2 separate regions of the Homo sapiens genome follow, and region 2 is linked to region 1. The links are contacts of gene promoters, found by promoter capture Hi-C in human tissues and cell types (Jung and others, 2019). All regions are on one chromosome and are shown on one strand. The core of a region is centred on a gene start or on the middle of the fragment in contact, and the rest is flanking DNA. Distances in the headings are between cores, read along the strand shown.

What was found. The method cuts DNA at HindIII sites, captures the fragments that hold promoters and counts their contacts. A contact is called where the count stands out against the background at its distance.
Region 2: a fragment that was not itself captured here is called in contact with the fragment with the promoter of FGF3 in region 1 in 2 of the 25 tissues and cell types used here (adrenal gland and stomach).

What each region holds. Positions count from the first base shown.
Region 1 is chr11:69,816,783-69,823,869 of GRCh38, forward strand. It overlaps FGF3 (fibroblast growth factor 3), which reads right to left and starts at 2,634. Exons shown (of 3, transcript NM_005247.4): 1 at 1,932-2,634. The coding sequence starts at 2,151. LOC107984368 (a long non-coding RNA gene) reads left to right here and starts at 1,926. Exons shown (of 3, transcript XR_001748071.2): 1 at 1,926-2,291. RefSeq lists an enhancer at 174-694 and promoters at 2,249-3,086, 2,497-2,643. The HindIII fragment of the contact is 24,587 bases long and covers 1-7,087 here.
Region 2 is chr11:69,856,488-69,863,552 of GRCh38, forward strand. No RefSeq gene overlaps it. Among named protein-coding and RNA genes, the nearest start is that of FGF3, 41 kb to the left of the region's middle. The HindIII fragment of the contact is 5,190 bases long and covers 2,339-7,065 here.

The DNA.
Region 1 (7,087 bases), core at 1,384-3,883:
CAGGCCCCTGCACATGTGCTTGAGCGGGAAATCAAGCCCTGGCGGCAGCCATGGGAGTCTGAGCTCTGGGACTGCACGGTCCCCAATGCCTGTGCCTGCCAGCGGGAAAGCTGGGCCCTGATGAGCCAGGCTGATAATATAAACCACTGGCAATAACACAGCCAGGGTGCCTGCCACCCAGATCATGCTGGCAATAGACCTGGCGGGAGATCATTGTACTCGCCGGGGGACCTGGAAGGGCAGGAAGCCAGTTTAGACCCTGGAGCCCGCAGAGGGAAGCTGGACGGGTCTCACCCACTCCCCAGGGATAAGAAAGTTTAAATCTCCCCTCCCGCCTTTCCTTCTGGATACACGAGTGCTGTGGTGGGGGCTGGGGGCGGGGGACTACATCAAAGGACGGGTTGGGGTCATTGTCTCCCAATAGAGGCTGCGAGGGGATTGGGGCGACTGCCTGCACCCTCTCCAAGGCATGCCTCTCAGGAGCGCCCTCCTGGCACGCGGTCCGAGCACAGACGCGGTCACCACCGGGCTTTTGCTCCAGCCCAGGGGTGCTGTGGTGCAGGCTGCGAGCCTCCCGCCTTCCCAGTGCGCAGGCTGGGCGGCATCGGCGGTGCCTGACCGGGGACCAGCGAAGCACGAGTCTCGACGCAGGACAGGGGCGGCTGCGGGCGCGCGCCCTCCCCTCCCCGTGAGCAGCCTACACCAAGAAGTTTGGATGCTGTGCGACTCCGAGGGGGAGCCTGGCTTTGGAGAGAACCGGAGTGTCTTAGTGAGACGAATTCCGCGCACTCGGACCCCCTGGTGACAGCTGGTGCCCACCGTGCGGCTCCGGAGGCGCATGTCCCCAGGACGCCCTCTCAGGGCTGCGGCTTTCCTGGAGGAAGCCGCGGTTTGCTGAGGCCGCCGCCGCCACCTTCAAGCGGCGGAACCGCTTCCTGCGCCCGGGGCCGGAGCCGAGCGCCGCGCGGAGCACCCGAGGACAGCTGTGGTCTTGACTGCCCTCCCACGCTCCCCACGCGGTCCTCCCGGGCCCTGAGCTCCGCTATCCTGCTCCTCAAAGGGCTCGGCGCGGGCCTCAGGTCCCTGTGACCAGAGGAGCCCAACCGTGTAGTCCGGCAGACTCCCGCGGTGAGCGCAGCCCGGGCCGCGGGTCCTGCGTGCGGGGGCCGGAGTGTGTGTGTCTGCACCCCCAGGCCCGGGCGGACACCGTTCCGCGCTCGTGATCCGCACGTCCCGACGGCGAGGGCCTCCACCCTCCTGTCGCTGTGCGGCCAGGGCGGAGGCGGGGGAGGTGCAGATTCCAGCGCGGGGAATAACTGTCGGTGGCGGCCGCGGCCAGGGAACCGAGCTCCGCAGGGCAAGAGTCCTCCGCGCAGAGGCAGCAGCGGGGGCGGCCACCTGGGCAGCCGCGAGCGGGGAGGGCGGAGGGGACGGCGGGGCGTCCAGGGGTCGGCAGGAGGAGGAGAAGTCGTCAAAATAATAAAGAGGATGATAAATGCCTTGTCCGGCTCCTTTTCTCCGACACATTCAAAGGGCTTAAACTTGTCAGAGCTGCCCAAAGCAGCAGAGCCTGGAGCCCCGGGGTCGCCTAGCTCGCGTCCCCTCAGACCAGCGGGCCGGACCGGGGACGGACTCTGACAGCCGCCGGCGCCCTCTTCGGACGTGAACGCCCATGCCCCCGAGTTCTGCTCGAACCCCAGCGCGCGCTCTTCTCCCGGACGTGTAGGTTGAGGAGGGCACCCTGGCATTCCCCTTCTGGCAGCGGGAGGCAGACGGTCTTTTCCCGGACACCCCGGGCGCACCATGCCTTCTCCCGGGCCAGACCCCTCCCCGGCGCCGCCTCCCCCGCGGGGCCCCGCAGCGCGCCTTCTCCCGGGCCCGACCCCTCCCGGCGCCGCTTCCCCCGGGGCCCCGCAGCGTCCGGCACTCACTGTAGGCGCTGTTCTCCAGGCTGCCGTTGACGCGGCCGCTCGGGTGCAGCTGGAGGTGGTACTTCGTGGCGCAGTAGAGCTTGCGGCGCCGGGGCGCCCCGCCAAGGTGCTCGTAGACGCCGCCACGGCCGCCCGCATCGCGCCGCAACCGCGCCCCAGGGCCCGCTGCGGGCCAGCCGGGCTCCAGCAGGCTGAGCAGTAGCAGCCAGATTAGGCCCATCGTGGCATCGCGCCCGCCCCGCGGCGGCGGCGGCTGCAGGCGAGCGCGGCGCCCATGGAAGGGGCGGCAGCCGGACAGCTGCGAGGTGCTCGGAGCGGGATCCCGCGCCTGGAGATGCTGACTCCGGCTTCGCGGGAAAGGTGGGGGAAGAAGGGGGAAGGGTGGGCGAGAGAGAGAAAGAGAGGGAGAGTGGGAGAGGGAGAGGGAGAGAGGGAACGCGAGTCCCTTTAATTTCCACCCAGGAGCAATGAAATTTCCGTTGCTGCGCAAAGCGCTGAAAGAAAGGACGGTTCGCCAACAAAAGGCCGACGTGGTCCCCAGGCGGAGGCGCGGGAGGGGCGGGAGGCCGGCGGGTGGGGAGCCCCGCGGGGCTCGGGGTTCGGGCCGGGCGCCGTCTGCATACACTCGCCGCCAGCGCACCGCCGTCGAGCCGCGGCTCCGCTCCGCAGCGCGCCCCACGCCCCCGAAAGCCCTCCTGGCTCTGAAAGGTCCCCTACCCGCCCCTCCCCCGCCCCCTCCCCCAGACCAATTATGCCTCCGAAAATTATAGACCGAGGCCTTGAGGAGGCCGCCCCAGGCCCTGTCACCCCCTCCCGCTCCCCATCAATCCCCCTGCACAATGGGGCCGCCGCCGATGACTGATGTCCGTGAAAACAACTTGCGGGGAAGTCGAGCTGACAAACGCCCATTAAAGGCGGCGCATAATGAAGGGGACCGCGGAGGGCGGCGGCAGGGAGGCTCCGGGGCGCGGGCACGCGTGGGGAGCTCCGGGTTTGTGTCTGCGCCCGGCGCTTCCTGCAGGAGCAGTGGCGCTGTCCTCAGCCTTGCAAGGCGCGGGGCAGGCCGGGTCTGGAGATGCTATCTCCTTTTGCGCACACCAACTGGGCACCCGGAGTGGTGGGGTTAGCTCTCGTCTGGCAGGCCTCGGAGGATCCCGTCCCAGTGACGGTCCAGAGAGGGGCCTGGGGAGGCGGGAGGAGGGACGCGAGAGCCAGAGAAGTGGGCGCCGACAGAGAGCCCTAGAGAGAAAGAGATGCAGATAGAGACAGACAGAAACGGAGGAGGAAAGGACGGGAAAGACATGGAAAATGTGAATGACAGAGATCGCCAAAAAGAGGAGGCAGGGGAGATGGAAAGAAGACAGAGCCGCGGAGAACACCCAGAGAAAAGCACAGGGAGTCTGGTAGCCACAGCGGGTGGGTGATGACAAGAGGAACCCGGTAGAAGCTGGGAATGGGTGTGGGGGAGTCCTGGCCTGGAGGATCTGAATCAGTGCAGATGCCCAGGTGGTCCCCTGGACTGTGTGGGGGTCAAGGTGTATCTCAGGGGGCCCAGTGAAGAGGGGCTTCAAAAAGTATCGGGAAAAGCCATGTCCCCACCCATTTCTCTTGCTTCCTGGTCCTCTGTCCCCCAGGGTCCTGGGGCCAGCAGGAAGCAGGGGCCAGCACAGGGGATTTGCTTCTCTCAACCCTGCCCCAGAGGAGGGCACGCTGTGGAGTCCAGGGGTCTAGGCCACAGCTTTGGCTCCAAGTTGACCAGGGGCTCTGGGGTGAGTTGGGTGGGCTGACATTCCCCAGCCTGCCATCTGCATCAGGGTTTGGGGTCAGGCAAGTGTGCAGGGCACCATGAGCTGTGGCAGTGAGCACACACCCCTGGGACGTGTCCAGCTCCCATGGCCCAATACACACAGGGCAGTGTGTCCTCTGTGAGCCCACTCCAGCGTGCACAGGGTCCAGGTGGCCATCCTGAAGGAGGGCGCCCCCAAGCCATCCCCGAGCACCTCAGTCTTAGTCAGGGTCTCCTAGCCGCTGCCCCAGGGCCAGCTTGTGAGAGTCCTTGAACAGGCCAGAGGCCAGCCACTGAACTACTGGAGCCTCAGACTCTTGATGGAGACTGTGTTACAGGGGTCAGAGGCTGGTGACAGGAAAGCCCCAAAGGACAGCAGCAAGAGGAGAGCTTGTCCAGTGCAGCCCTGTGCAGGCCTGGGCTGGGATGTGTGGTCACCTGGGCTCCCTAAGAGGCATGGAAGAGGCACAGGAAGGAGGTCGCTGCTCTAAATGCCTTAGCTCTGCTACCTCCTGACACCTGGCCAAGAAGAGAGGAGATGTAGTGGCGGGGGTGGGGGGTGCACAAGAAATTCAGAGAGGGGTGCAGTCAGGGGGCACAGTCTGACAGAGAGAGGAGAGAGGACACAATAATGTTTTAAGAGAGAGAGAGCAAGAGCAGCCTGCTGGGGCCAGGGGACTTCCGATGCCCTTTCCTGTCAAGGCTCCGGCTGCCTCCTTGGCAGGACCCCCTCTGGAGGACTGGGAGGAGCCAGAAAAATCTGACCAAGGCAATCTGGGTGTCCATGCCCCTCCTGCTCTACACCTGGGGCCCCCAGCAGTTCCCAGGGAAACTCCCGGGCTCTGGTCTCCAGCCCTGCCCACTGCCAGGTTGCCGTGTGCCCGAGAACCCAAGATGAGGGCAGGGGCTGCTGCCCTGAAGCAGGAGTCCAAAGGTGACCCCTCTATAGGAGGGAAGCTCAGGGGATGGGCAAGAGGTTTCCAGCTCCTAGGGAGAACCTGACACACCAGCCACTCAGTGCATACTCCTAAAATGAATGAATGGTTCGGCCACTTCCTGCCACGAGGCCTTGGCTGTGTAGTGTCGCTCCTGAGATACTGGTTTCTCATGTGTGTGATGCCCCAAAGGTAGGGCCGGAAACTGAGTGGCATTACCTCTGCAAAGCCTCTGGCCTCCCATCAGCGCAGGGCATGCTCCAGCCGCAGGGGACCACAGTTTATGACGCAAACCCTGCTGCCTTTGAGAGTGAAAGAGGGCGCAATTTGCAGTTATACCAGGACAGCCGGTGCCCTGCCTGAGGTCCCTCCTGGTGGCCCTGGCTCACTGTCTGCTGTTCTGGTAAGCATGACTTTTCCGAGGCAGCCAAGCTCTCTGGGCCAAGTTTTCCTCTCTCCTCCGGTCGCTGGCGACAGCCTTCAGCCCGGTCCTTCCATCTGCGGTCCACCCTGCAGTCACGGGAAGTGGTCTGGAGCCCAAAGCTGCCTTCTCCAGCTGCCCCAGCCCCTCTGACAAATGCCGTAGTGTTGGGGGAACCCTGGGGATGCTCACCCACCCGCGTGGACCTCTAGTTCACTTCCCACATCTTCTGGGCTGCGCCTCCAGGCCCTTGCTCACCCACCTATTGAGTTCTTCCTCCTCATCTAAACCTGTTGATCTTTCCAGCCCAGGAAGCCCCCCAGACCCCCACCCTGGGACTCTGGGACCCTCAGGCCCAGCCAAGGGAGGGGAACCTGATTCCTCCACATCTGCCCGGCAGGGGCAGGGGGCTGGGCCACAAAGTCTTGTGTGTGGGGTGGGGCAGAGGCACCCACATAATGGCAACCTCGCCCCTCTCCCTCCCATTCGGAGCCAGGCGGGGGGTGCACCATGCGCTAATAGCGACCCTGTTAATTGCTTCCAAATGGTCAACTGTAGTCATTTGACTAATTGGTCTCTTCCAGAGCCCAGGCTGGACACCCCAGGCCCAGCAGAAGTGCTCCTACCAGCATCCCCCGAACCTCTGCACTGGGACCCTGTCCCCCAGAGCACCCCCAGCCCTATCTGGTACCTGAGTCTGCCCCTAGCCTCTTCCCCTGGAGAGAGAGCTGGGGTGGAGAGAGGGCAGAGAACAGGGTCCTATGGTGTGGCCGCAGGTGGCTGGCCAGGGACTGTCAGATGTGATGCTGACTCCCAGCCCCAAACTCACTCTAATTATGTTGCCTGCCCCCCCATCCTCTTACCCCATCCTTGTCCCCAAGAGCAGTGGGAGAGAGACCCAGCCTGCCTGTGTCACTGGGAGACCATGGGTCCCTGAAATTCTGGGAGCAGCCCTGATCAGCCCCACATTACAGATGAGAAAGGGAGGCTCAGAGAGGTGAAGTGACTTGCCCGGGGTCACACAGCCAGGAGATGAGGCGAGAAGACTGGAATGCCCCTTCTGGCTACGGGACCCAGGACCCGAGCAGTGGGGAGAGGGAAACCATTGCCCCTCTAAGTCCCTCTGGGGCAAAGCTGGCACTTTGCTTCTGGCAAAGTTAGGAGCCCCCGCAGGCAGGGGTGGGATGGAAGGCACATCTCCCCGCAGTGGGGCCTGCGCAGCACTTTGAGGCTCATCCACGGTGTGGCGTGTGCCAGTGTGTCCTCCCCTTTTCTGCCCTAGTGGCATTCCGTCGTGTGCACAGACCACATGCTGTTTATTTTTCATCCATGGATGGATGTTCGCCTTATTTCCTGGCTACTTGGCTATTTTGGAGCCCCAAGCTGAGACATAAAGGAGGATTCTCTCTGGGTAGAGGAGAGGAGGGAGCAGAGGGCCCCCTGGCCCAGGGACAGACACCTCCAGCTGCTCTTTTTCTTCCCCACAACACCGAGGGCAGCCTGTGCCTGTCAGTGCCTGGCATCGGGCTCCAGGCAGAGCAGCCAACAGGGCTTGTAGATGCCATCTTCTCCCTGTGTCCTCACAGGTTCGTCCCTCTGTGTGTGCCTGTGTCCTCATTACCTCTTCTTATAAGGACCCCAGTCAGATTGGACTGGGGCCATTCCACAGACCTCGCTTTACTTTAATCGCCTTTGAAAGACCCTAGCTCCAATTGCAGCCACATTCTGAGGTCCTAGTGAGTAGGGTTCCAACATACAAATCTTGGGGGACACAGTTCCGCCCAAAACAAGTGCAAATGATGAGGTACACCCCCAGTCCTGTGGATGAGGTGGGGTGGAGGGAAGGGAAGAAATTCACATCCCCACCTCCTCCCACCATGAAGTCAACTGCAGCTGGGCGAGGCCAGGCTTGATGGGGAGCTGTGGCAGCTTTGATGGGGAGCTGTGGTGGCAAACCCACACTCAAGCAATCACCCTGTGTCCCTGCCTTGCACCCCCCTACCCCTCTCCACCC
Region 2 (7,065 bases), core at 3,684-6,183, 42 kb after region 1:
TAATATGAGTAGTTAGACCAACTGAATTTAATGTAGTTATTAATATGGTTGATTTTAAATCTACCATCTTTCTAGTTGTTTCCATTTACCCTATCTGTTCTTTTTACTTTTTTCTCCTTTCCTTTATTTTAAATTAATTGAATTTTATTAGTATTCTATTTTGTCTTTGTGCATTTTTTTTAGCTATAAAACTTTGTTTTAGTTTCTCTGGTTGCTGTAGGTATTATAGTGTGTATTGTTAACTTTTCACGATACACCTTGAATTAATATTATACCACTTCACATGTATTGTAAGACCTTTACAACAATTATGCTTTTTTTTTTTTTTTGACAGAGTCTCACTCTGTCACCCAGGCTGGAGTGCAGTGGCACGATCTCAGCTCACTTGCAACCTCTGCTTCCCAGGTTCAAGCAATTCTGGTGCCTCAGCCTCCCAAGTGGTTGGGATTACAGGAGTGTGCCACCACGCCTGGCTATTAACAATATACTTCTATTTATTCATTCACCTTGCCCTTTGTGCCATTATATAATACATTTTATTTCTGTGTATGTTATAAACCCATAATATACTGTGATTATTTTTGCTTCATATCAGAGATACCATCAATTATCTTGTTCTTGTTTGGGTAATTTCCGTTGAGCTGATTTCAAGTTCATGACATTTTCTTCTACACTGTTAAATCTGTTTTTAGGACCATCCAGTGAATTTTTGATCTTGTCATTTCAGACATTGTACTTTTCAGATCTGGGAATTTCCATTTACTTCTTTTTTAGTTTTCATATATCTGCTGTGATTCTTCATCTCTGTATTCATTATGTGCATTTTCTTCTTTAAGGCCTGGAGCATATTTATAATACAGTTGACCCTTGAACAACTCAGGTTTTACCTGTGCAGGTCCATTTATAAGTGGATTTTTAAAAATAAAAGTTACAGCAAGTGCACCTGCCTCTCCTGCTCCCCCTTCTACCTCGTCCACTACTTCTACTTCTGTCACCCTTGAGAGAGCAAGACCAACTCTTCCTCTTCCTCTTCCTCCTTCTCCTCAGCTTACTCAACATGAAGACAATGACGATGAAGACCTCTATGATGATCCACTTCCACTTAATGAATAATCAACATATTTTTTCTTCCTCATGCTTGCCTGCCTGCTTACCTCTCTCCCTCCCTCCCTCCTTCTCTCTTTCTCTTTCTCTCTCTTTCTTTCTTTTGAGATGGAGTCTCACTCTGTCCCCCAGGCTGGAGTGCAGTGGCCCTATCATAGTTCACTGCAGCCTCAAACTCCTGCACTCAAGCTATCCTCCCATCTCAGCCTCCTGACTACAGGTGTGTGCCACCACACCCGACTAATTTCTAAATTTTTTATAGAGATAGGGTCTTGTTATGTTGACCAGGCTGCCTTATGGTTTTCTTAATAACATTTTCTTTTCTCTAGCTTACTTTATTGTAAGAATACAGTGTATAACACGTAAAACTTACAAAATATGTGTTAATCAACTATTTGTTATTGGTAAGCTTCTGGTCAACAACAGGCAGTTAAGTTTTGAGGGATTCAAAAGTTAAACATGGATTTTTGACTGTATGGGGTGTTGGCACCTCTAACGCTCACGTTGTTTTAAAGTCTGCTAAATCATCTGTGTCATCTCTGCGTTTGTTTCTATTAATTACTTTTTCTCTTCTGAGTATGGGTCACATTTTTTCTGCCTCTTTGAATGTCTAGTAATTTTTCTACTGTACGTTAGACATTGCAAATGCTATGTTGTTTTAGTCTGGATTTTATTGTCTTCCTTTAAAGAATCTTGAGAATTTTTCTCCCCTTAACAGGCTGTTAATTTATTGGTGAAACAGTTTGATTGAAGATTATTTTCATTCCTTGTTATTGTGGGCCTAGAAGAGCCCTTGTTCTAGAGCTGCAATGGCAAGAATGCTGCTTTAGGTTGGGTTTGGCTGCCTTGTGCCTCAGTTTAGAAATTTCCCTCAAGTATAAAGCCAGAATGAAGGCGGGGCTTATTCCCATATGTCTTTCCCCATGAAGGAAAACAGCCCTGTATTTTCTGTTGTCTGATGCCTTCAAAAGTTATTTTAAATATTGCACCCAGTTGAATAGTTGTTTATGATGAAAGGGTGATCTTAATACTCAGTACAATATGGTTGGAACCAAAATTACTTTGCTTCACATAGTTTTTTTTTTAGCTTTTTATTTTGAAATAATTTTCAACTGAAAGAAAAGTGGCAGTAAATAGTCCCAAGACTTCCTTACCCAGCTTCCTTTAATGTTAGTATCTCAAGCAGCCAAATATAATTGTCGAAACTAAGAAATTAACATGGGTTCAACACTATCAACTAAACTACAGACCTGATTCAGGTTTCATAAATTTCATCGCTATGTCCTTTTCCCGTTCCAGGATCCAGTCCAGGACATCATATTGTATTTACTTGTCATATCCTCCTAGCCTCCTCAGTCTGAGACACTTCCTCAGCCTTGTCTTATCTTTCGTGACTTTGACGCTTTTGAAGAGTGATGGTAAGTTATTTAGCAGAATTTTCCTCAATTTGGGTTTATCTGATGTTATCTCATGATAAGGTGGAGGTTATGCATTTTTGCAAGAATACCCTAGAAGCAATGCCCATGTCACTGTATCTCATTAGTGGCAAAGTTAACCTAGATCACTTGGTTAAGGTGGTGTCTTCCTTACTACTTTTCCTGTTGTAATTAATAACTTTAGGAGCAATACTTTCAGACTATGCAAATATCCTCTTTCTCCTCAAACTTGTACCCACTAATTTTAGCCTCAACCAGCAGATATTACCTGTAACAATTATTGAGAAGTGAGGCCAGCTGGACTTTCTGGGTCGAGTGGGGACTTAGGGAACTTTCCTGTCTTAAAAGAGGATTGTAAAATGCACCAATTAGCCCTCTGTAAAACGCACCAGTCAGCGCTCTGTAAAACTCACCAGTCAGCGCTCTGTAAAACACACCAATCAGTGCTCTGCAAAATGCACCAATCAGCAGGATTCTAAAAGTAGCCAATCACTGGGAGGACTGAAAAAAGGGCATTCTGATAGGACAGAAACAGAACATGGGCGGGGCCAATAGGGAAATAAAAGCTGGCCACCTCAGCCAGCAGGGGCAACTCACTCGGGTCCCCTTGGATGTGGTGGAAGCTTTGTCCTTTTGCTCTTCACAATAAACCTTGCTGCTACTTACTCTTTGGGTCCGGGACATCTTTAAGAGCTGTAGCACCCACCACGAAGGTCTGCTGCTTCATTCTTGAAGTCAGCGAGACCACGAACCCACCAGCGGGAACCAACTCTGGACACATTATGACTGTGATGACTTTGTTGTTCTAATGGTGATTTTCTATTTTCCAAATTCTTTCTACATTTATTAATTGGATTCTTTGGTAAGGAAGAGCTGTCGCTTCTTCTCATTTATCCCTTTACTCCCCAGTTCTAAGGTACCAGATCCATTTCTTCCCATGCAGCAGGGGAGGCTTTTGTATTATACGAACTTGCAGTTCTTGTCTTTTCTACAGACTGGCCCACGGGTCACCCACAGCGACACACCTTCAGGCTTCCTACACAAATCCTCCGATGTTCTCACGGTGTAAAAGCTGAGACTGTGATCACAAGTACAATTTTGTTTAATCTGAGAGAATGTTTTCTTCTTTAAAAAATATACACACAAGGGGATGGGGTAATACCAGGAAGAAAAAATAGCCACGTGTAGTTTTGGAGGAAAATGTGAGCTCTACCTCTGAGCTGGACTCCATGTTGCCCTCTGGAGAGGATCCTGTTTACAGTGCGTCTCTCCTGCTTCTGGCCCCACCCCGCTTCAAGTCTTGTTTGTTGGTCCTCGTGGTTAAATGACTGCAGAAATGCCCCTAATTATTTTCCTCCCCAACTCAACACTCCTGGTTGCAGCAATTCCTAGCAAGAGGCAAAGTCTATTTCCCTGTCCCTTGAATCAGGGTTGGTTTTGTAACTTGCTTTGGCCAAAAAAATGTGACTGCAGTGGCTGGGTGCAGTGGCTCATGCCTGTAATCACAGCACTTTGAGAGGCGGAGGAGGGAAGATTGCTTGAGTCCAAGAGTTCGAGACCAGCCTGGACAACACAGTGAAACCCTGTCTCTACAAAAAAACACAAAAAATTAGTTTGTGTTGCCATGGTAGCATGCACCTGCAGTCCCACCTACTCAGAAGGCTAAGGTGAGAGGATTGCTTGAGCTGGGAAGGCGAAGGTTGCAGTGAGCCATGATTACACCACTGCACTCCAGCCTGAGCAACAGAGAGAGACTCTGTCTCAAAAAAGAAAAAAAAAATAGAATTGTGGCAGCAGAGACCAGCCACCAATTCTGAGCCTAGGCCCTAAGAGGACCCAGGACTCTTACCAGGGGCTGGCCTGCTGGAGGAAGAGAGACAGTGGCCCAGTGGTCCACCGTGACTCCAGCTGAGAGCTGCCCAATCTTCAGGCATGGAAGTGAGGGCATCCTAAACCAGCCAGCCCACCTGCTGTCTGCAGACATACGATGAGTCCAGCCAAGATCCCCCGAGCTTCATCCAGATAAGCAGGACTGCCCGGCTGACCCCTGGGCTTGTGAATAGAAGAAGCACTCCTCATGTGAAGTCACCGAGTTTGGAGTGGTTTGCTGTGCAGTGATAACTACTTGGTACTGTCCTTCCTGAGCCACTCTCACTCTAAACCCAGATCCCGCAACACCTCCAGCAGATCCCCAGGACTCTTGGGATGCAGTGCACGGAGCATTCGCTTGGTCCAGCCCATTATAGGAGGGATGACACCAAGAGGGATCAGGTGACCTGCCCAAAGGGAGGCAGCAAGGTACAGGCATATTGTGGGGCTAGAACCCTGGACTCCAGCTTCCTAGTCGAGTGCTTTTTCCAGGACCCTTTCTGCTTTTACTTTGACAACTTCTTCCCCAGAGCTCAGCTCTCACTCCTCAGACCAAGTAGCTCCAAATCCTTGGGCTCACCTGCACAGACCCAAGGCTGACCTTGGCAATCCAGAACTCCTGCCCATCTGGGACAGGTGTCAAAAACGAGGGCTCCTCTTGCTTCACCTGGATAGTGGCCACCTCTACCTCTCTCTCATCTTTCTCCTGCAGGAAACGGCCGTGGTCCTGCCAGCCCCCGCTTTTGGAGGGGCCTCCGACACTCTGGGCAAACCTAGTTTCTGAGGACTCATTGCCCCAGAAGCATTGGCTAAGTGAAAGATTAATGAACAGAGGTTCATAGGATCTGGAAAGGCTTCTAACTGGAATGATCTGAAACTAAAAATTAATGACAATGGCAGCCGCAATGTAATAGCTGTGTGGTTTATTGAGGTCTTACTGCATCCCCGATGGAGCTGAGTGTGTCTCATGCTGTGTGTCATTTCATGCATGCAACAACTGTATGATACAACTACTATTATCCCTGTTTTACGGGGAAGAAACTCAGAGAAATGCAGAAATTGTCCATCATCACACTGGATCACCCCCTTGGAGAAGCTTCCCTGACCACCCTAGCAAGGACACAAGCCCCACCACTGCCTGCCCCTGAGCACTGGTCACATTGGACATCTCACCCACGCATTGGTTTACTGTCCGGCTTTCCCTTGTGGGACACACAGCCACATGAGCCCAGTCTGTCCCGCTCACAGCTGTATCCAAGGCCTGGAGCATGGCAACAGGCAAACAGAGACCCGTGGAGGGAATGGTCGGGGAATATTGGGGTTGTAAGAATGGCCCTCGTGGAGGGGAGCAAGGTGTCAATCAGCTGATGACATAGTGCATATTTGATGACCCCTTGGTGGGTGCAGGTTGCTGGGGACCTGGTGCTATCGAAGATTACAGATGGGCTGGCAGGGGCCCTTTCTCTCTTATGGAATCAAGCACGGCCCGCAAAGGTTGCTACTGAGCCGGCCTGCAGTGGCCCCGACCAAGCAGTGGCCCCGGCTGCAGCCAGGGCCTTTGGAAACCTCATCAAAATGAAGAGTGGCCTCGTGCGTGCTGACCGGGGGGCTGGTGGCCCACGGAGACGGCATTCCCAGAGACTACAAGGAGCCGGTGGCCCTTTCTTCAACCGCCAAACAACAGCCAATCTCGGCCCCACAAAGACGGGCGCATGAATCACTTCTGCAGAGACTGCATTTCCTTTGAGGGGCTGTCACTGGCACCGGGCGGTAAGAAAACATTTTGTCATGCACATCAGCTGCCTTTCTCTGGGCCTTGGGTGGCCCAGGGCCACTCCCCCACCCAAGGGGACGGCTGTCCCGGTCAGTGCTCATCCATCAAGCTCATAATGAGGTGGCAAATTGCTGTCTTGGAGAGACACTCAAAAGCCAACTACTTCAGCCTGTCCATGGAGGTGTCAACGGCCGGGCCCCAGGAGATAGCTCCCTCCAGGAGGCCTTCTATGGGGGCAGAGGTGGGAGTTTTACTGATCACTAAAGAAGTTGCAGCACCCACCAGCAACTCCCTGGTCCCCTGGGGGTCAGGCTGCCCTGGCCCCACTTACTGCCCATTGCAGCCAGAGGCTGACATCTGTCCCCACCCCTGGGATCCCCATAACCCTGAATCCTTGTTGGCTTCAGAGTCAGCTGAGAAGACCTCCTCTTCCTCCTCCCCCAAGTTCCAGGCCTCAGGGACAGCCAAGGAGAGCAGCAGCAGCGCCTTCCCTGGCCTTTGACCTGAAGACATCTATGATGATGATGATGATGGTGGTGGTGGTGGTGGCTACAGGGTGGGCAGCAGCTTCCTTCACTCATAACTGAGGCTTCCACACTCTATTAGCCCTCATGACCACCCAGGAGGGATGTAGACCTGTGCCCCCATTTCACAGATAAGAAAGGGAGAGGTCATGTGAGCTCCCCACATCACCGCACCAGTGGGAGAGCCAGCCCACTCCAGAGCCCAGGCAGCCGCACACTCGCTCTCAGACAACATCCACCCAGGCCACGAAGAGACCAGTGTCCCGCCAGACCACTCGCTCCCCAGCCCTGACCCTCGGGGACTCACTTCCCTGCTCGTCTGTGTGGTGTGACCGCCCACCTGTGTCCCCCAGCAGGT